7 separate regions of the Homo sapiens genome follow, and all the other regions are linked to region 4. The links are contacts of gene promoters, found by promoter capture Hi-C in blood cells and fetal thymus (Javierre and others, 2016). All regions are on one chromosome and are shown on one strand. The core of a region is centred on a gene start or on the middle of the fragment in contact, and the rest is flanking DNA. Distances in the headings are between cores, read along the strand shown. Region 1 overlaps CSNK2A2 (casein kinase 2 alpha 2). Region 2 overlaps CFAP20 (cilia and flagella associated protein 20). Region 3 has its middle 32 kb from the start of PRSS54. Region 4 holds the start of CNOT1 (CCR4-NOT transcription complex subunit 1). Region 5 overlaps PRSS54 (serine protease 54). Region 6 overlaps LOC105371293 (a long non-coding RNA gene). Region 7 holds the start of CSNK2A2 (casein kinase 2 alpha 2).

Region 1 (2,700 bases), core at 147-2,646, 450 kb before region 4:
ATAATGTCCCTGGTACCCCTTGACTTGGCCACTTTTTTCCCAGTTCCACTGGAAAGTTTCTATGTGAAGATTCCTCGATGGAGGCCTCAATATAAGTTTAAAAACTTCACTAAATCCTCTGGGTATCAAGAAACATTCTGCTTAAGTTCTCTTTGTTCTCTCAAAAACTTATCTTTTAATGAACAGGCCTGAAAAAAATTAATGGTTTATGAACACCACTTACTTTAAGTAGTTCATACATATAAAACCGGATATCAAAGTCTGTCAGGATCTGGTAGAGTTGCTGAAACAGATTCCAGAAAACAGAAAGTTAATTTAGTCTCACTGCATCTTGTCATCCTAAGTGCAGGCCATTCTCTAAGCTTATTTGATACTTAAGTGACTAAGGAATCCCATGACTTTTTTACTACCTGATCTGAAATAAATGGGAAGACTAAAGATGAAGGTTTTATATTTTAATCATCAGAAGAGAAGAAAAAAAAAAATGGAAGGAATTCCAAGGGAGAAAAACATTTAAGCCAACTCAGATCTTTCCTATTTAATGCTCTGTGATTTTGCCAATTACAATTATTAACCACAATTACACCATTGTGAAGTCTAAGTTGTCTGTCTTCACATTCTTACCGAACATCAAGAAAACTAACCCCACTGTAACACCACAGTATACTCTAGAGAAGTGAGTTCTGAGTGGATGGCAGAGCTCTGAAGAACTTCATGGGCTACTGTGGTAAAACAGTGGCGACACAGGCTGTTCTCAAAAAAGAAAAATAAGGAAAAAGGAGGTGCTATAGCATTTGCAGATGGCAAGAGCTTACAAAAAAATCTATACCCTCTGCTCCCCGGAAACCAATTCCAGACTGGAAAAAAAGAACATTTCACAGGCAACACCTGACGTCTTAGGAGTGAAAAAAGACAGGGGTATCAAAAATGATCACTGGCCAAACTGATAGGTAAATGGAAGTTTTCATTATTGGTAATCCAGAGACCCACTCGCTGGGAGTTTTTAAAAAATTTCTAAGAGTCAGAATACATTAATGCTACAAGCTTCATTAAAGGCATCATAAACCCTTGTCAGGAACTCTCATTATCTTTGATATCCAATCAAATCCATGTAAATCTGTTTTCCCATCAATCCAAGCCATGCTTTCTATAAAATTAAGAAACACACCTTTATTAAACTTCTCTTGTTCTTCTATTGAAAGAGAGACTCAAGCAATGTAGGGAATCTCTCCAGGGAACACAGAACAGTGTATATAATGTGTCTCTGTAATAAGGGGGAAAATAAAAACTATACATCCATATTTTCTGTATCTGCAAAAATGATACAGAAGTAATAAAAACTGGTTTCACGTATATATGTGTAAAGGAATAGGCAGCTGGAATACAGGGGAATAAAAGAGACTTTTCACTGTCTACCATTTTATATTTTTGATCCACATATAATGTTCAAAAAAATTTAATAAAAAAATCAAATTTGCCAAGAACCAAATTTAACATTTTCTAAGAATACCAGGTCTTTGCTTTCTCAAGTTTCCCCCTTTAGGTAAGAGTAATTCCCCCTGCCAGCTTAGGAAAAATATTTGATTTCATCAACCTCAGGGCAGCGCAGGGAACGAAATGCACAGGCCAGTACATGGTGTTGTGGGGTTGGGTGGCTGGCCCTGGCTACAGCTGACCCCCATTCAGGCAGAACAACACCAACAAGCCACCACTTCTGCTCAGGAGAGCTTCAGCTACATAACACACACCCAAGCTTTTTGTTCTTCTCCCAGCTCTGCTGCAAGAAGGCTTCTTAGCCAGGACTTGGCTGCACACTGACAGCTTGAATGTAAAGACAGGCTTAAGATGCCATCTCTTGGGTGTCAAAGCAGCTCCTCCTCTGTGAGTTAAGGAAATCACTCACAGAGACTAGGCTAAATTGAACTTCAAGTCAATAAATACGCTATGAAAGAGAAAAGATCTAATTTTCTAACCCTTAGAGGGCTGGAATATTTTATTTCCAGAAAACTAACATGGGCTATCTCATTAGGACTTTTATCTGTGGAAGGCCTCCCTCATCATGTGGTACCTACACCATGCATCTGTATAAATGGTGTAAGCCATAAAAATAAATGTCTCTGGACTGCCAACACAGTATTTCTAGCTACAAAAACCATTAACAATTTAATTCAAAGACACCAGTTGTACACTAGTGTTTAGGACTAAGATATTACAAAGTCCCAAGTGACTGGTTGCCATTCACCCTCACTTCTCAGGATCTCCGGGTAGGAGGAGACCAAACTACATCTGTAACATTTAACCGCCTGGGCCCAAAATTCAAGACTATGCAGGGTCCACAGTCTGGCTTCCTCCGACTTTTGTAGCTCTGTTCTTCACTGTACCCCCAGGAGTCCACAGCTCTGACAAAACAAGCCCGTGTTTGCTGCCTCCACTCTTCCCTCTCTAGCCCTACTCCACCTTAGCCTGTAAAGCCAAAACCAACCTGTCTGCTTTCTACAGAGCTGACAATGATACCTCCCTTCTCTATCTCCATGCCACTGACTCTCCAATGTGGCTGTGCACAGGACACCATTAAGAACACAATGTCCCCAGAGTTAACATTCCTCACACAGGGACTGGTGGTAACCTCAGGTTCTCAAGGTGACTCCTCACTCTGCTGCGTGCTTTGTCCAGACCCCAAGAGTCTCATGCCAACATTCC
Region 2 (2,700 bases), core at 172-2,671, 510 kb before region 4:
GGCTTTGGGATGAAGATAAAATGAACTGCTCAGCATTTATTGCTCATGGCGGAAGCAGGTTTTAACATGTTCTGTCCTTCTCTAGATCACAAAGAGCCGACTGTTTTTGATTTGTTAATTCTTTTTCATTCATGACACATTCCCACTATCAAAGTGTGGCCTATGAGTGCTTTATTCCTCAAAAAAAATAAAATAAAAATAAAAATCTAAAGCCAATATTGTTTTATTTCATTAATTTCCCCTCCCCTGCCCATGAGCTGGAGATACTCAAAGAGCTTCAGAATCCAGTTACTGGCAATTACAGATCATAATGGTTCTCTGCCTCTGCAGACAACAGAGGTGACCAAAGCTTCAGGCCAGTCTTACAATCACTCTCCCAGGCTTTCCATGGTTGCTAGGGCAACTAATAAAGAACACCGATTTCTCTCCCTCCCCGCAATGTAAGCCTCAGGGAGGTGGGTCAAGCTGAGGGAAAAAAAAAATACTACTACTGGGATAGGGAGGGAGCTGGTGGATGCTGTATATTTCTATGACTGCTTTAAAAATAACATGAGTTGTATCCATTCCCTCCCCCAACTTTCATTTTTCTGGCCCCACCCACTCAGCCTGGCAGGCAGCTGAACCCTCAGCCATCTGGCATCCTAGCTTTAATGACACATGCTCTAATTTACATTAAACCATTAGAGCTGTCCATTTCAGCAGGAAAGTTCCTGCACTGGGTTAAGGGCTGGGTTCCCAGACAGAAATTAGGCAGAGGGAGACCCCTGTGGGGAGAACTGAGCATAGCTCCGACTCAGACTCCCAGGCTCCAAGGGTCAAAGGCTTCACTCCCTTCGCTGTACTTGACAGGGGCTATCCAGACAGCAGACAAGCAACTCTGGGCATACACCAACAACCCCTAAGTCAGCGTAAGGACAATTATGTGCACAGCTAAGAAAAGGCAAGTGTAATTAAAACCCATGTCTTCGGACGGGCGCGGTGGCTCACGCCTGTAATCCCAGCACTTTTGGAGGCTGAGGTGGGAGGATCACCTGAGATCAGGAGTTTGAGACCAGCCTGGGCAACATGTGAAACCCCATCTCTACTAAAAATACAAAAAAATTAGCTGGGTGTGGTAGCGCATGCCTGTAATCCCAGCTACTCAGGAGGCTGAGGCAGGAGAATTGCTTGAATCCAGAAAGAGGAGGTTGCAGTAAGCTGAGATTGTGCCATTGCACTCCAGCCTGGGTGACAGAGCGAGACTCTGTTTCAAAAAAAAAGAAAAACAAAACCAAAAAACCATGTCTTCGTTCAATTACAGTAAAACCTGACTCAGAATAATGAAGAACATTCTCCAAGTCAGAAAAAAAGTTTTACCACCTTTATGTCCAAATACACTCAATTCTACTACTGAAAACAGCACCAATTTAATTTTTATCAACAAGGCATGCTAACTAAAAACTAGAATGTAGGAAATTTTTTCTGAAGAGAGACTTTATTTTTAAAATTAGAACAGGACATGGGAATCTAACACTATCCAGCAACAGCAGAAGACTCTGGTCTAATATTTAGTCTTGGAGTAGGGGAGAAACAGCAGCAGCTGAGAGAAAGACAGGGTGACAGGAAAGACAGACAAAGGCGTTTTCATGAATTAATGCAATCTCATCTCATGTACTTTTAGGATACTATCTTGTTTTTTTTGAGACAAAGTTTTGCTTTTGTTGCCCAGGCTGGAGTGCAATGGCACCATCTCGGCTCACCGCAACCTCCACCTCCCGGGTTCAAGTGATTCTCCTGCCTCAGCCTCCCGAGTAGCTGGGATTACAGGCATGTGCCACCATGCCCGGCTAACTTTTGTATTTTTAGTAGAGACGGGATTTCTTCATGTTGGTCAGGCTGGTCTTGAACTCCTGACCTCAGCTCGCCTTGGCCTCCCAAAGTGCTAGGATTACAGGCGTGAGCCACTGCGCCCAGCCAGGATTACTACCATTAAGACCGAAAATTGGCTGGGCGCAGTGGCTCACGCCTGTAATCCCAACACTTTGGGAGGCCAAGGCAGGCGGATCACGAGGTCAGGAGATCGAGACCATCCTGGCTAACACGGTGAAAACCTATCTTTACTAAAAATGCAAAAAATTAGCTGGGCGTGGTGGCGGGCGCCTGTAGTCCCAGCTACTCCGGAGGCTGAGGCAGGAGAATGGCGTGAACCCAGGTGGTGGAGCCTGCAGTGAGCCGAGATCGTGCCACTGCACTCCAGCCTGGGGGACAGAGCAAGACTCTGTCTCAAAAAAAAAAAAAAAAAAAAAAAAAAAAAAAAAAGACTGAAAATTACAGCATGTTTTACACAAGTATAAGTGGGAACAGAACCTCCTGGTATTTTCCTTACAACCAGAAGTAATGTTTACATTAAACGTAAGAGTCTTTTAATAAATATAAGATTTGCTGGTCCCAGATGTCAAGGTAACATTAAAGAAACCCCTAATTTCTTCTAAGCTGTTGGTTTAGAAACTTACAAAAGCTTCTATCAGGAAACTGTATAGCCAGGAATACAGACCTTAAGAAGCTAATAATGTCAAGTGTGATAAGAAAGAAGTAAATTAACTTACCCTGAAGAGTTAAGGAAGGTCACTCTGAGAAAGGCCTTTGAACTGTGACTGGAGCCTAATGAAAAGATGGGAGTGAGGCTTGTGGGGTGGTGAGGGGCAGCGCCCAGCAGAAGGA
Region 3 (2,925 bases), core at 40-2,539, 300 kb before region 4:
AAAATTTTAAAAAGAAACCAACACATATTTATTGTAGAAAATTTCTAAAATTCAGACAAATGTCAAGAGGAAAAGAAAAAGTACCTGAAGTCCCAATTAGGTTATTTGTTTCCTGTCTTTTTTCTGTACGTGTATTTCAAACAACTAGGATTAAGCATATAGTTTTGCGTCCTGTGCTTTTTTCCTATTAATAGTATGTTATGATCTTTTTTTCCATATTATTGTTCTTCAAAAGTACAGCTTTTAACAATGGCAGAAAATTTTACCATATAAATCTCCTATAAGTTATCTTTGTACTTTATCTCTTTTACTCTGCATTGTGGGATTAGTCATTTTTACAGCCCGTCAGCATGTCCTACATAGGCAATCTAGCTCCCCAATTTAGGAGGTAGAGTTCTTGGCATCTGTTGCACTGATCTCACTCCACTTCGGAGTCTCAGCTGAAGCCAAAACAAGAGTCCCATTTTAGCATCCTGTTCCATATGTAAAATTGGAGGGAATAACTAAGACAAATTAATAAAAATACAACAGTGGTGGTAGACTTTCACCCACTTGTTTCAGTCTTTGTTGGACTAAATAGAGAAAAGAAAGTAAGGATATTACAGAGGAGGAGAATATAATGACTAAATGTTCTGAACTGTATCCTTTGAAAAGAGTAGACTTCTTTTCAATTAAATGGAAAAAGGTATAACGATGTCCACTGATGAATGGGTAAACAAAATGTGGTATATACATACAATGGAGGCCAGAGTGGTGGTTCACACCTGTAATCCCAGCACTTTGGGAGGCCGAGGCGGGTGGATCACCTGAGCCTGGGAGGCAGAGGTTGCAGTGTGCCGAGCAACCTGGGTGCACTCCAGCCTGGGTGACAGAGCAAGATCCTCTCTCTAAATAAATAAATAATACACACAATGGAATATTATTCTGCCTTTAAAATAAAGAAATCCTGTTATGTGACAACATGGATGAACCTGGAGAACAGGATGCCAAGAGAAATAAGCGAATCACAGAAGGACAAATACATGATTCTACTTATATGGTGTCAAACTCATAGAAAGAAAGAATAAAATGGTGGTTGCCAGAGGCTGGAGGGAGGAGGGAATGGGGAGTTGCTAGTCAGTGGATATAAAATTTCAGTTATTCAAGAGGAAAAAGTTCTAGAGATCCTCTGTATAACAATGTAGCTATAAATAACAGTATTGTGTTGTACACTTTAAAATCTATTAAGAGGGTAGCTCTCATGTTAAGTGTTCTTGACACAATGAGATAAAATAAAAAGGAAAGCCCATTGTATATAAGAAATTGGAAATTGTACCGTCATATTCCTGATCATAATGCAAGAACGCAGGAAATAAGTTAAAAGTAGAAGCATTGGATGTCTTTTGTAGTTGGCAACAAATAAAATAAAATAAAAAGTAGATGCAGAAAGACGTTTGAGAATGTCAAGCCTTTCTATGGAACTGCTCTAGAGCAAAAATACATTTATAAGATATTTGGGAAATAATGCTAATAAAAACACTCCATATAAAAACTCATGGATAACACTAGAGCTGTACTCAGAGGAAAATGCCTACTCTTAAAACACTCTGGAAGTAAGAAAAATAAAATACAGCAGTCAGTTAAGTCTGCCCAAGAAGTAAGGATGAGGAACTTTGTTTTCCCTTTGAGAGCTGCCTGAGGTGAGGTGCTCATTTTGTTAAACTTCCCAGAGTGAAACACTTTAGCAAAACAATAAATATCACAACTCAAAGGCTTATTTGGAGCTCAACAAGTTAGACATAAGGTGTTTTGTTGGTTTTGTTAAAAAGCAGATATACTGAGATATAATTCACATCCCACCATACAATTTACCCACTTAAGGTGCAAAAATGTTTTTTACCATATTCACAGGTTGGTGCATCCATCACTATAACCAGTTTTAGAACATTTTTGTTTTATTTTTATTTTTATTTTTTTGAGACGGAGTTTCACTCTTGTTGCCTGGGCTGGAGTGCAGCGGCACGATCTCAGCTCACCACAACCTCTGCCTCCCCGGGTTCAAGTGATTCTCCTGCCTCAGCCTCCCGAGTAGCTGGGATTACAGGCATGCGCCACCACGCCTGGCTAATTTTGTATTTTTGATAGAGACGGGGTTTCTCGATGTTGGTCAGGCTGGTCTCAAACTCCTGACCTGAGGTGATCCGCCCATCTCAGCTTCCTGAAGTGCTGGGATTACAGGCGTGAGCCACCATGCCTGGCCAGAACATTTTTATTACCACTGAAAAAACTCCATCCCTTGGCCAGGTGGTGGCACACGCCTTTAATCCCAGCACTTTGGGAGGCTGAAGTGGGAGGATCACCTGAGGTAAGGAGTTTGAGACCAGCCTGGCCAATATGATGAAATCCCATCTCTACTAAAAAATACAAAAATTAGCTGGACATGCTGATGCATGCCTGTAGTCCCGGCTACTTGGGAGGCTGAGGTGGGAGGATCGCTTGAGCCCAGGAGGTGGAGGTTGCAGTCAGCCGAGATGGCACCACTGCACTCTAGCCTGGGCGACAGCAAGAGACTCTGTCTCAAAAAAAAAAAAAAGAAAAGAAAAAGAAAAAGAAAAGAAAAGAAAAGAAAAAATCCCATCTTCATTAACAGCCATTCCCCATTTCTCCCCATCCCCACCCCGCCGGCAACCACTAATCTGCTTTCTGCATCTGTGGATTTGCCTATTCTGGAAATTTTATATAAATGGAATCCTGTGGAGAGAGAGAATGGAGAATGACTGCTTAATGGGGTACAGAAATGATGAAAAAGTTCTGGAGCTAGATAGTGGGGATGGTTGCAAAACATTGAGAATGTATTTAACATGCCTAAGTCGTACACTTTAAAATGGTTAACCAGTCTGGGCAACATGGTGAAACCCTGTCTCTACAAAAAATACAAATAAATAA
Region 4 (2,700 bases), core at 196-2,695:
AGGAATACCAACCGGGACCACAGATCACTTAAGTATTAAACCCAAGTACCTATAGAAAAAAATTGTTCTTAATCTGTTTGACCTTCCTCCTAATATTTTACTTGCCTTCCCTCATTTTTTTAATCCATGTATTCCCTATTCCTATCAAAGGGGCTGTCATAAGGAAAACGTTCGGCATTGTTTCAAACAGTATAATTATATTCACTCAATCACTGACTTAAAAAAAAAAAAAAACCCAAGTAGTCACAGGCTATCGAATTGTAGAGAAATCGGCAGGGTAGGTTAAGCATTGTTACTCAGTTTTCAGGAAGAAAACAGACTTTATTAGAGTCCTAAGAAATGTGACATTTGATTAACTTCATGGGAAAAGTTTGTCATAAAGTTTATTTTAAATACAACATTTTCAAACGCACAGATGTCAAGCATTCTTTTTTAATCTACAAAGCTTACTCCTCGGGGAGTTAGTATCTGTGAGCCCTCTTGGGTGAATTCTGCAAAGGAGGTGGTACTGAAAAAGTATTATTTGTGTTTGGCCTTAAGTACCTCTACAAGACCTGCCGTGGATCTTATCAGCCTTGAGGCCTACAAGTGCTCAGCTCACTAGCGGGACACTTGTCCTGGGTGAGCAGGACCGCCACTACTGCAGACACCGGACCGAGTAGGTGGGGGCCAACTTCAAAGAAAGTGTGAGCGCCCAGGCGCGCGAGTGGAACAAAACCTGTAGCAAGTAATAAGGAAGTGCTTGCTCCCGCCCGCCCTTCCCATCCGGGGACACCCGAAACCTGGGGGGCTTTGACAACGTGCTGGGGGCGTAAGACGGGGAGAGTGGCAGCTCCGAGTACACGGAGAAGAACTGGAAACATGCAAAAACTCCAAACACGGTCCCCCCCGCCAGAAGCCCTAGGCCTCGGAAGCCGATGCCCACTGCAACCATCAGGGAGCAGAGACAGAAACAGTAGTTAAGGAGGTCGTGGAGGTCTCAGAGGGGTGCAACCCGCGCGAAGCCAGGCCCAGCGACACGAACTGCCGCCGCTGCCGCCCCCTGAGCCTCCAGGCCCGGGACAGAGACCACCATGGGTCTCACCCCGCGCTCTACCCTCCGCTTCCTGGAGCCTTCTCGCTGGCCTCTCATCTTCAGAGCGCGAAGCCTCCGAGAGCCGTGTGGAGAAGAGTCCGCCCTCTCCCGCCTCGTCCCACTTCCCCGTCCCGGCTGCCTCTCACTCCCTAGAGCTCCGGGAAACGCTTCCAGTGGCCCCAGGTCCACCCCTGTTCCTCCTCCCACCGGCTCTCGCGTTCCCAAGCTGACACCGCCACCCTACCCTAGCCCCTGACGCCAACCCGCCTCACCTCAGGCGGCTCCGGCAGCGCTGGACACAGGAAACTCCTGGGTCCCCGACTCCGGCTCTCCTCGACCCCCTCTTCGGTTAACTCCGCTTGTTTCTCTACAAAATGGCGCCGGAGGTCGCGCGCTCACGTCGCGGCCTTTCCCCTCCCCGTTCCCATTTCATCATTCGCTGCCCGCCCGAGGAGGGATGGCCCCAGAGCCAGCCAATGGCCGCGCCCCGCCTGTGGCTTCTACCCAATCACCGACAGGTGCCCGCGGATTTAAACCAATCACACTCTATCACTTGCAGAAGTCGAGGAAGAAATCAGGCTCCTGCTAGCAACTACCAATCCGGCCTCCTACTTCGCGGACTTTGGCCAATTGCCGCTCACCAGGCCCAGGGGACCGGAGTCAGAGCCCTCGCGCCTGCGCTCGAGGCGAGGGCCAATAGGGAGAGGCTGATAACTTCGATTTGGGGCTTCACGTACTTCCCACCTGCCCTGGAGGGCTGCGACCAGTGGGGCTTGGCATTGCCTTTGAGGAACAATAAATTATGGAAGGGGCCCATAACTCCTCGCCACCCTGCGCGGGAACTACTTTGAATTACAGTGAAACAGCTTTCCTCCACTTTCCTTCCTCTTTCGAAATGTCACGGTCCAGTAGACTTCGGGGATTCCCAACCGAAACAATCCCCTCCCCTAGTGTCCCTTTGGCGGGGAACGCCAGCCAGAAAGCAAGCCAGGTTGTGACTAGAGTTGGGGCGCTTTGCATCCTGGGATGTGTAGTCGCGCTCCTCTACCCCGTTCCCATCGCAGAAGTAATGCGTCTTCGTTCGTCGCTGCGCCCTAGAAGGAGCAGTGCATGCTGGGGGTTGTAGTCACCCAGGTGGCCACCTTGTCCTCGCTTGCTTCGCTTTGGTCAAGGGAACTTTCTGTTTTAGTTCTGTCTATTGAAGAAGGGACACCTTCCAGAGACGCCTTCCAGAGACGTAGGAGACGCAAGTTCTCTTCCTGGCTTAAGTCCTAGAAGCCGTCTAAGAAAGGATACCCATGTCCTTTGCTCTCAAGAGAAAAAGCATAGAAACATATTTTGCTATGGTTTGTTTGTTAACTATGATAGTTGGTAAGATTTTATACTCACCTGTACCCAAAAGAGAAAGGATTGGGAAGGAAGTGTTGACTGGTTAGCTCTATTACCTTTTGAAATTAAGGCCGGGCGCGGTGGCTCACGCTTGTAATACCAGCTCTTTGGGAGGCTGAGGCGGGTGGATCACGACGTCAGGTGATCGAGACCATCCTGGCTAACACGGTGAAACCCCATCTCTACTAAGATACAAAAAATTAGCCGGGCGTGGTGGCGCACACCTGTAATCCCAG
Region 5 (2,876 bases), core at 376-2,875, 340 kb before region 4:
TTATCTAATTTAAGAAATTGTTAAGATCCCCCACCTGGCAGAGGACCCAGTACAAAATAGGCACTCAATAGATGTTACACCAACTTTGGAAGGGCAAACATATTTCTTAATGAGAGGCAGTCCTTCATGTTTTGCAATAAAATGACTTTTAAAAAAAATTGTCTGTATATATGTATTTTTTCCCCTTGCTCTAAAAATCCTGCCTTTCTGGATCCTATGGGGAAAAAAAATTCCCCATCAGGTGTCCTGAAGGTTATTTAGAGGAGAGTGTGTGTTAAGCCTCATAGAAAAGCAATTCTAGAGCAGAGGAGATAAACACTGTCTGGATATCTGGTAGACCTAGGTCCTTGTCTTTGCTGTAACTTTTATTGACTGTGTGACCCTAGTAAGCCACACTTTCTCCAGATTTGGATATGAAGGGGCCTGAACCAGGTGTGTGTGACTTCTACACATTTTTTTTTGAGGCAGTAGGACAGCCACATCCGTACAGCCCTCATCTGGGTGGAGGGCAGGGCTTCTCAGAGAAGAAAAACTCAGTAACTGATAGCATCAGAGGGGAGTCTAGGTTCCCTAGAAGCTGAATACAGCAGCCCCACACTGTAGACCTGCTCAAAGCATATCGGCCTCTGTGGTTTGGACTCAGACTTTCAAATTTTTAGCTAGTTAAAAAGCACCTGTGACTTAGACAAGCTTCATCATGTTACACTGAAAATCGTGACTGGTTAGTTCATTCAGCAGATTTTTATTGAGCGCATACTGTCTGCCAAGTGCTATTCACTCCAGAGACAGCCACTCATCCCAAGCCCTGCCCTCACAGAGCTCCCCATCTAGGGAAGGGGAGTCCTGAGGCTCCCCTGGATGTGACCAAGGCTTACTCTCAACACTTAGCTTCTACTCCATGATGTTCTTACCAAGCAGGCAGTCTTGGTTTCCTCTTTCGTGTGGCTGCCGCATTCTGTCTTCTGGAGTTTGTATAGGGGACACATGTCAAGATCTTTCACGAAGATTTTCCTCAGGACACTCATCGTCATGTGATTTCCTGTCTGGACCATGCAACAGAGAGCCCAGGGATTATTAACGAGAAGGCAGTCCCCTATGTCAACACAACTCCCACTCATATAGCCAAACGAGAGTGAGAATTTTTTTTTTTTTTTGAGTTGGAGTCTTGTTCTGTCACGCAGGCTGGAGTACAGTGGTGTGATCTTGGCTCACTGCAACTTCTGCCTTTCGGGTTCAAGCAATTCTCCTGCCTCAGCTTCCGGAGTAGCTGGGATTATAGGCATGCACCACAACGCCCAGCTAATTTTGGTATTTTTAATAGAGATGGAGTTTCACCATGTTGGTCAGGCTGGTCTCGAACTCCTGACCTCAAGTGATCCACCTGCCTTGGCTTCCCTAAGTGCTGGGATTACAGGCATGAGCCGCTGTGCCCTGCCAGGAATGTTCTTATAAATCCCTTTTTTTCATAGAAATAAGAACCTGTGACTGAGTTTTTACTGAAAACTACCTCCACTTTGAACTTGAATGTGCAAACAGGCAGAGAACACCCTTCCTCCTCTTCTAGAGAGTATCCATTTCCTTGTTTCTTTCTTTCCCCAAAGTGAAAGAAAACAACGATGGCTTAGACAAGAGGACAATCAGCCGTAGTTCGGGGACTAACATCCCCTCACCTCTCTGTACACTTGTATTCATTCCAGGGTGTCCACTGCCTCTGTACTTCCAGTTTTGGTGTAGGGCTAGAGGGTAAAGGACCAATGTGATGTAAGAATGGCCACTGGATGGGTGCAGTGGCTCACGCCTGTAATCCCAACACTTTGGAAGGCTGAGGTGGGAGGCTTGCTTGAGCCCAGGAGTTCGATACAAGCCTGGGCAACATAGCAAGACCCCATTTCCACAAAAATAAATTTAAAACAATTAACCAGGCATGGTGACATGTGCCTGTAGTCCCAGGTACTCGGGGCTGAGGCAGGAAGATCACTTGAGCCCAGGAGTTCAAGGCTGCAGTGAGCCGTGATGGCACCACTGCATGGAAAAGACCCTGTCTCAAAAAAAAAAAAAAAAAAAAAAAGAAGAAGAAGAAGAAGAGTGGCTACAGAAAGCCCTGGGAGTCTTGACTGATTAGGTAAGGGTTTCAGCCAAACTCTAGAACCTCAAGCAAACTCCATTATTAAATTAAGATAGGCCCTAGATTGGATTATCCAGGTCACCCCCACTGCCAGCACACACGCAGCCTTCTCTGGGAGGAGGAATGCCTTAACTGCAGATGTGGGATTCCATCCTGACACCCAGCAGTTCTGCAAGACTGGTGGTGTATGCAGCATTCTGCCGAGGAAGCAGATGGACTGGACCAGGTTGCCAAAATGCATCGCTGTGTCTGTCTTCAGGAGGGCTATGTTGTTGCTCATGGAGTTGTTATCAAAGTCCTCATGGATGATGATGGTATTGACTGGATACTCTGTGTGAGCAATCTTGCTAGGATCCATGTTACTTATACCCACTATAACGACAATGTCCTTCCTGGAGAGAGAGCAAGGGAATCTTGAGAAGCCAAGACAGCAAGGAAGCTTCACGCTTCCCTGTTTTCCCATTTAAGTTTTTTCAGCCTGGAACACTCATCCAGCTCATATTTCCTGTGTTAATTCTTCCTCACCCCTTTGGACTCAAGTTTCTAGGAAATCTTTTATGAACCCCTAGGCTTGTGCCCTCTTTTGTGAGCCTGCAGAATCCTGGAGATTCTTTAATCTTAACACCATTTGCCCCACCACTAAAGAAAATCTGTTAACATGTTATTGCTGATTAATGTTTTTTCTATGAATAGTTTTTTTTTTTTTTACATATTGTAGTTTGCAAAAGTAGTAATTGCAGTTCTACCAAAC
Region 6 (2,746 bases), core at 159-2,658, 390 kb before region 4:
CTCACTCAGCAGGGCTGTATTTTCTCTAGAGGCTTAAGGGGAGAATTCTCCAGTTTTTAGAGCTTCATTCCTTGCATTCCTTGGCTCCTAGGCCCTCTCCTCCATCTTCAAAGTCCACAGCATAGCATCTTCAAGTCTCTCTCTGCTGAGGTTGTCACATTGCTTTCTCTCTTCTGTAGTAGAATCTCCTTCTGCCTCCCTCTTGTAAGGACACTTGTGATTGCTTTTAGGGCCCACTTACATAATCCAGGATAACCACTCCATTTTAAGACCTTTAACTTAATCGCTAAAATTGTTAAGACCTTTTCCCCCTTTACAAGGTAATATTCATAGGTTCCAATGATTAGAACCTGGATATCTTTGCGGGCCATTGTTCTGTCTACCACATTGTCTAGACATTCAGTCTAGAGTTAAAGCTACTCTTTTAGTTTTATGTCTTTGCTGTGTCATTTTTGTCATTGCTTTGGGGTTTATGGTACATTTCTTTAACTTAGTACAGTCTATCTTCAAGTGTTATTATACCACTTTATGTATAGTATAAGAACTTTATACCATCACACTCCCATTTCTCCTCTACTATCATTGTCATACATTTCACTTATAAACTCTACAATGTAAATGTTTTTTTTTTCTTTCTTTCTTTCTTTTGAGATGGAGTTTTTTGCTCTTGTCACCCTGGCTGGAATGCAATGGCCCGATCTGGGCTCACTGCAACCTCTGCCTCCTGGGTTCAAGCAATTCTCCTGCCTCAGACTCCCAAGTAGCTGAGATTACAGGTATGTGCCACCACGCCCGGCTAATTTCATATTTTTTTTAGTAGAGACAAGGTTTCACCATGTTGGTCAGGCTGATCTCAAACTCCTGACCTCAAGTGATCCACTGGCCTCTGCCTCCCAAAGTGCTGGGATTACAGGCATGAGCCACCGTGCTTAGCTACAATGTAAATGTTGTAAACTCTACAATACATAATTTTTGTTATATAAAGTTATTTATCTTTCAAAGAAAATTAAATAATGAGAGAAATATATTTACTTATCCACTTAGTTACCATTTCTAGTGCTCTTCATTTCTTTGTGTTGATCCAGATTTCCATCTGGTATCATCTTCTTTCTGCCTGAAGGACATCCTTTAACATATCTTGTATAGTGAAGCTCTTCTGGCAACAAATTCTTTCAAGCTTTTGAATATCTGAAAAAAATATTTATTTTGTCTTTATTTTTAAAAGATATTTTTGCTGTGTAAAGTATTCTAGTTTGACAGGTGTTTTTTTTTTTCTTTCAGAACTCTACCAGCTTGAATTGTTACCTACAAGAAATCTATCATTTTAATCCTTGATTCTTTGTATATACTGTGTCTTTTTTTTTTTTCCTGGCTGCTTCTAAGGTTTTCTGTTTATCCCTAGTTGTAAGCAATTTAGTTATGGTATCTTTGGTGTCATTTTCCTCATGTTTATTGTTATATGAGGTTGGTTGAACTTCTTAGATCTATAGGTTTGTAATTTTCATCAAATGTGGAAAAATTCAGCCATTATTTCTTCAAATATTTTTTCTGTCTCCTCCTCACTTCTGAAGACGAGCAGGATCAAGGAAAGACACTACAAAGGAAAATATCAAGAGAAGGCAGTACAAAGGAAAATGTACTAAGCTTCTTACATTTTAGAGATGCACATTTGCATAGTCAGGCCTTTAATCTAGGAAAATAATAACCCAGAGCTTGCTCCATGCCTGGTACCTGGTTAAATGTAATCTCAATGAACTCTTCCAACACCTTAGTGGGAATGGCTTTGGATGGATAGGAGAAGGACTGGGATGGAAAGGAATGAGTAATGATTAAAGGTACAAGCTTTCGGCTCTAGCTCTGCATGTCACCTGCTGTTTGACTGAGTAATTCACATCGCCTCTCTGGCTTTCACTTCCTCACCTATACAAATGAGGTGAGTAATAGTGTAACTGGCCAAGTCCAGCTGCTCACCGCTTGGAGGCCAAAAACACAAGAAGCAAGTTGTGGTGAAAGGAAAGCAACTTTATTCAAATGCTAGCAGTTGGGGAATGGACAGGCCCATGCCTCTGAAAGACCATTCTAACTTTTTGGGCTGAGTGAAGGGGTTTAAGAAGGAAAAAGGTGAGAGAAACGCGGGAGTGGTGCAGCAGGAGGTCTTGTTATCTTGAGTCATCGCCTGTCTGGAGGACCGGTTTGCATCATGCTGACTGCGGTAGTGGTGGGCTAACTGCTCCTAACTCCCCCTAATCAGAGGGTTCCACAGCTGGGTCTCTCTGCCTGGCTTGTTTCAAAATCGATCCCTGGAATTTCTAAGCAAGCACATAATTAGATAAGCGAGTACTGTTCATAGAAGTGGCTGGTGGGAAAAGGCAAAACAAAAAGTTTCAAAGTATGTTTCAAGGCTGGAAGCAAGAAGGGAAAAATGTTTTAAAACGCAGTTTGAGGCTGGGATACTTGGTTACAATAGTACTTATTTTACAGGGTTAGGGGACAAAGCACTCGAATGTTTGCTGTTATTACTATTATTTTTTTGTTTGCCAATATTTGAAATATCCCTCTTCCTTACTAACTCAATTCTTCCTTAACATCGATTAAAGCGATATATGTTGCTCAGCTGTGACAGACTCTACTGATTGAGGATTGAGCCAGGGTCTGTTTATTTCCTTTTTCAGATCCACGTCTCTGGAGCTATCCCTGGGATATGGAGGTTTTCAGGATTAATAACTGGATGAGATACCAGCTCAGA
Region 7 (2,786 bases), core at 20-2,519, 430 kb before region 4:
CTTGATTACTGTAAAAGGAAGACACACACATAAATGCCAGGACTGGGGGTTAACCAAGCCTATGCCCACTGTACACGTCATTCAGCCGCTTCCACCAGGCAAACACTTGGAAGTGTCTATACATCACGTCACAACTCATTCCCTAAATGAAAGCCACGACATAATCTTGGCTCCCTTCACTCTGCAGAGCTCCTAACCTAATTGGTCTCTCCTAACTTGGGAAGATGGGGCAGGAAGGCAACGCTCTGAGCCAATCCAGAGGGGCGAGCAAAGCACCCGTCCTGAAGGCCTAGAGGGTGCCCCCTGTGCCCCGCGGCTCCCCAGCACCTGCTTCTCGTTTCACATCTTCAAGGTAGACAATGCCTGTTTTAAAAATCTGGACGTCTTTAAGAAATTTCCTCCCACCACCTCATCTCAGAAAACCTAAAAGGCAGGGCATTTTAATAGCTCCAAAGGACAGCTGTTGACTTCCCACCCCAGTGGAAACCCAGAAGTGTGAGGAAGGGCAGCTCCCTCACTTCCACCCGGCGTCGATCCCTGGACCCCACACTTCTCCCCGAGTAAAAAAGCATTCCTTGGGGGAAAGGGGTGCGCAAAGCGGGGAGAAAGGGACGAAACGGGGGTAAAGGGGAGGGAAGAGGAAGACGAGGACATGTGCGAGAGCGGGACCTCTGCCTCCCTGCGGGCCCGCGGAGGGGTCGGCGGGAGACACCACCGGGCCCGAGTGCGGTTCGCAGGGGGTGGCCGGGCGGGGGCAGGGATCAGCGGGCCCGGCGGGGGGCGGCGACGGCTTTACCCCCAGCTCGGGACGTGAGCCTCGTAGTCCCAGTACTCGCGGCTCCTCAGACTGTTCACCTCGGCGTAGACCCGGGCCCTGCTGCCCGCGGCCGGGCCGGGCATGGCGGGCGGGACCGGGGGGCGGCGCGGGGCGCAGAGGGTGGCGGCGGCGGCGCGGCGGGGGACGCGGGGCGTCGGGCGGAGGAGGCAGCGGGCCGCCGGGCGCTGGAGGAGGAGGAGGAGGAGCGCGGCGGCGGGCGGCCGCGCCAGGCCGGGCCCGCGGGGGCGGGCGGGCTGGGGGCGCGGGGGGCGCCGGCCGAGCCGGCCCGGCCCTGGAGCGGCCGGCGGGGCGGCGGGGCGGGCGGCGCTCGCGCTCCGCGGCGGTCTCCGCTCGGCTCGCGGCCCCCAGGAGGCGGCGGCGGCGGCACCGGCAGCGGCAGCCACCGGCCGGGAAAGGGGCAGCGGCGGCGGCAGCGGAGAAGAAGGAGGAGAGGAGGAGGAGGCGGAGGAAACCCGGAAAAGGGGCCGCGCTCACTGGGAGCGGCCGCCGCCCGGCCTGGGGCCGCCCAGGCTCACAGCGCCCCCTGGAGCGCGGGGGGACCCGCCGGGCGGTGCCGGCCCCGCCCCGGCCCCGCCCCGGCACGCCCCGCCGCCTACCTCGCGCCCTCCGCCACCCTCGCCCTCCCGCCGCCACAGGTCGGACTGTCCAAATCGCCTCACCCTCGGGCTGGCTTGACTTCACGCCACAGGAGCCCCCCCTTCCACTGGCCGTTGCCCTAGAGCCCTCGCCCGCGACTCCCGACCCTTTCACTGTCCTTGGAGACCCTATCCCCAGCCCTGCACTCACCCAGCTTTTACCCACCCAACACATCCCATACTGACCCTATTCTGACCCTCCTGTCACCCAAACTGTCAAGTCCCTCCCCAGGGCCTCACTCAAACCTCAGAACCTCCCCCACCTCAATACTTCTCCCTTCCCCCGAGACATACCCCTCCTTCCCCCTCTGGACCCTGCCCTGTTAGGGTAGACTCCTCAGTCCCCAAGGCTTCCTACCCCCGTCATTCAGAGTGCTCCTCACAAAACCTTTCTACACTTCCCCCAAATGCCCTTCCAGAGCCTTCCCTGAATATCCACTTTGGTCACTTGGTTAAGCTGGCATTGACCAGGTTGTGCCACTGCAAAGTTACAATTTTTCCCTTTGTGATTAATAAGTCATTTGTGGGGAGAGACTTTGAGAGTGTAAATCTCCTGTTTGTGTTTAGGAGGAGGGAGAGCAGGAGAATTGCAAATCCGACCTGAAGGGACAGGCTGGGTTGGGGATGTGCCCAGAGTAGGTGGTCAACTGAGCTGGCCTGGCTTCCAGTGCTGCCTGCAGCCTTGAACACCCTTCTCCTTTGATCTTCTAGGCCTTTCTTCTGTCTTCCTTTCCCATCCCTCATCCTTTATCGACAGCACCTCTGCACCCAGTACAGGTTGCTTTCATTCCAGTCCCTTTTCACATTCTGTTTTCTGGATGAAACCCTGGGCCTTCCTGCTTGACACAGCTAAGAGCACAGTCTGTGGAGTCAGATCTATCCAGCACTGCTACTTAGAAGCTGTGTGACCTTAGGGCAATTACTCAACCTCTCTGTGTCACAGATTCTACAGCATAAAACCAGTAATAACGCTCACTTCACAGGGCTGCAAGGAGAATTAAACAAGGTAAACCATGTGAAACACTTAGGATGGTGTTCACTATTAGGATAGCATGTGTTCAATATGATTATTTCCAGGCCTAGGGCCTTTCTCTGCTCATTCCTCCCTCCCTGAGACCACCGTGCATCCGTCTTTTGGTTCCTTCTATCCTCCAAGCTTAACTAGGAGCCACCCCCAACCCCTCCACCCCACCTTCCCAAGGGTGTCTCCTTTTTCCTATTCAAATTTCACCTTTTTCTTTATTAGTAGTATTTTTTTAGAAATAGGGTGTCTCTATATTGCCCAGGCTGGAGTGCAGTGGCTATTCACAGGC

Evidence for each region. The method cuts DNA at HindIII sites, captures the fragments that hold promoters and counts their contacts. A CHiCAGO score of 5 or more calls a contact.
Region 1: a contact is called between a fragment that was not itself captured here and the fragment with the promoter of CNOT1 in region 4, in 3 of 17 cell types (M2 macrophages, total CD8 T cells and M1 macrophages). The highest score is 6.7, in M2 macrophages.
Region 2: a fragment that was not itself captured here is called in contact with the fragment with the promoter of CNOT1 in region 4 in 1 of 17 cell types (monocytes); the score reaches 6.0 in monocytes.
Region 3: a contact is called between a fragment that was not itself captured here and the fragment with the promoter of CNOT1 in region 4, in 1 of 17 cell types (M1 macrophages). The highest score is 8.6, in M1 macrophages.
Region 5: a contact is called between a fragment that was not itself captured here and the fragment with the promoter of CNOT1 in region 4, in 1 of 17 cell types (fetal thymus). The highest score is 5.1, in fetal thymus.
Region 6: a fragment that was not itself captured here is called in contact with the fragment with the promoter of CNOT1 in region 4 in 2 of 17 cell types (total B cells and non-activated CD4 T cells); the score reaches 5.4 in total B cells.
Region 7: a contact is called between the fragment with the promoter of CSNK2A2 here and the fragment with the promoter of CNOT1 in region 4, in 7 of 17 cell types (total CD8 T cells, naive CD4 T cells, monocytes and 4 more). The highest score is 7.1, in total CD8 T cells.

The regions. Positions count from the first base shown.
Region 1 is chr16:58,174,228-58,176,927 of GRCh38, forward strand. It overlaps CSNK2A2 (casein kinase 2 alpha 2), which reads right to left. Exons shown (of 12, transcript NM_001896.4): 5 at 224-283. Among named protein-coding and RNA genes, the nearest start is that of CSNK2A2, 23 kb to the right of the region's middle. The HindIII fragment of the contact is 709 bases long and covers 1,043-1,751 here.
Region 2 is chr16:58,121,332-58,124,031 of GRCh38, forward strand. All of the region lies in intron 1 of CFAP20 (cilia and flagella associated protein 20), which reads right to left. Among named protein-coding and RNA genes, the nearest start is that of CFAP20, 6.7 kb to the right of the region's middle. The HindIII fragment of the contact is 2,148 bases long and covers 348-2,495 here.
Region 3 is chr16:58,325,741-58,328,665 of GRCh38, forward strand. No RefSeq gene overlaps it. Among named protein-coding and RNA genes, the nearest start is that of PRSS54, 32 kb to the left of the region's middle. The HindIII fragment of the contact is 4,072 bases long and covers 1-2,925 here.
Region 4 is chr16:58,628,381-58,631,080 of GRCh38, forward strand. CNOT1 (CCR4-NOT transcription complex subunit 1) reads right to left here and starts at 1,446. Exons shown (of 49, transcript NM_016284.5): 1 at 1,348-1,446. RefSeq lists enhancers at 523-1,199, 1,200-1,875, 1,324-1,533, 1,824-2,313. The HindIII fragment of the contact is 12,291 bases long and covers 444-2,700 here.
Region 5 is chr16:58,283,679-58,286,554 of GRCh38, forward strand. PRSS54 (serine protease 54) reads right to left here. Exons shown (of 7, transcript NM_001305173.2): 5 at 2,259-2,517; 6 at 912-1,043. CFAP263 (cilia and flagella associated protein 263) reads left to right here. Exons shown (of 9, transcript NM_014157.4): 9 at 1-158. Among named protein-coding and RNA genes, the nearest start is that of PRSS54, 9.9 kb to the right of the region's middle. The HindIII fragment of the contact is 1,874 bases long and covers 689-2,562 here.
Region 6 is chr16:58,241,722-58,244,467 of GRCh38, forward strand. It overlaps LOC105371293 (a long non-coding RNA gene), which reads right to left. Exons shown (of 4, transcript XR_933630.2): 3 at 1,049-1,188. Among named protein-coding and RNA genes, the nearest start is that of CFAP263, 6.8 kb to the right of the region's middle. RefSeq lists an enhancer at 1,787-1,846. The HindIII fragment of the contact is 467 bases long and covers 1,176-1,642 here.
Region 7 is chr16:58,196,837-58,199,622 of GRCh38, forward strand. It overlaps CSNK2A2 (casein kinase 2 alpha 2), which reads right to left and starts at 1,270. Exons shown (of 12, transcript NM_001896.4): 1 at 797-1,270; 2 at 1-8. The coding sequence starts at 900. It also overlaps the pseudogene RN7SL645P. RefSeq lists silencers at 704-773, 1,174-1,443, 1,494-1,623. The HindIII fragment of the contact is 2,827 bases long and covers 1-2,627 here.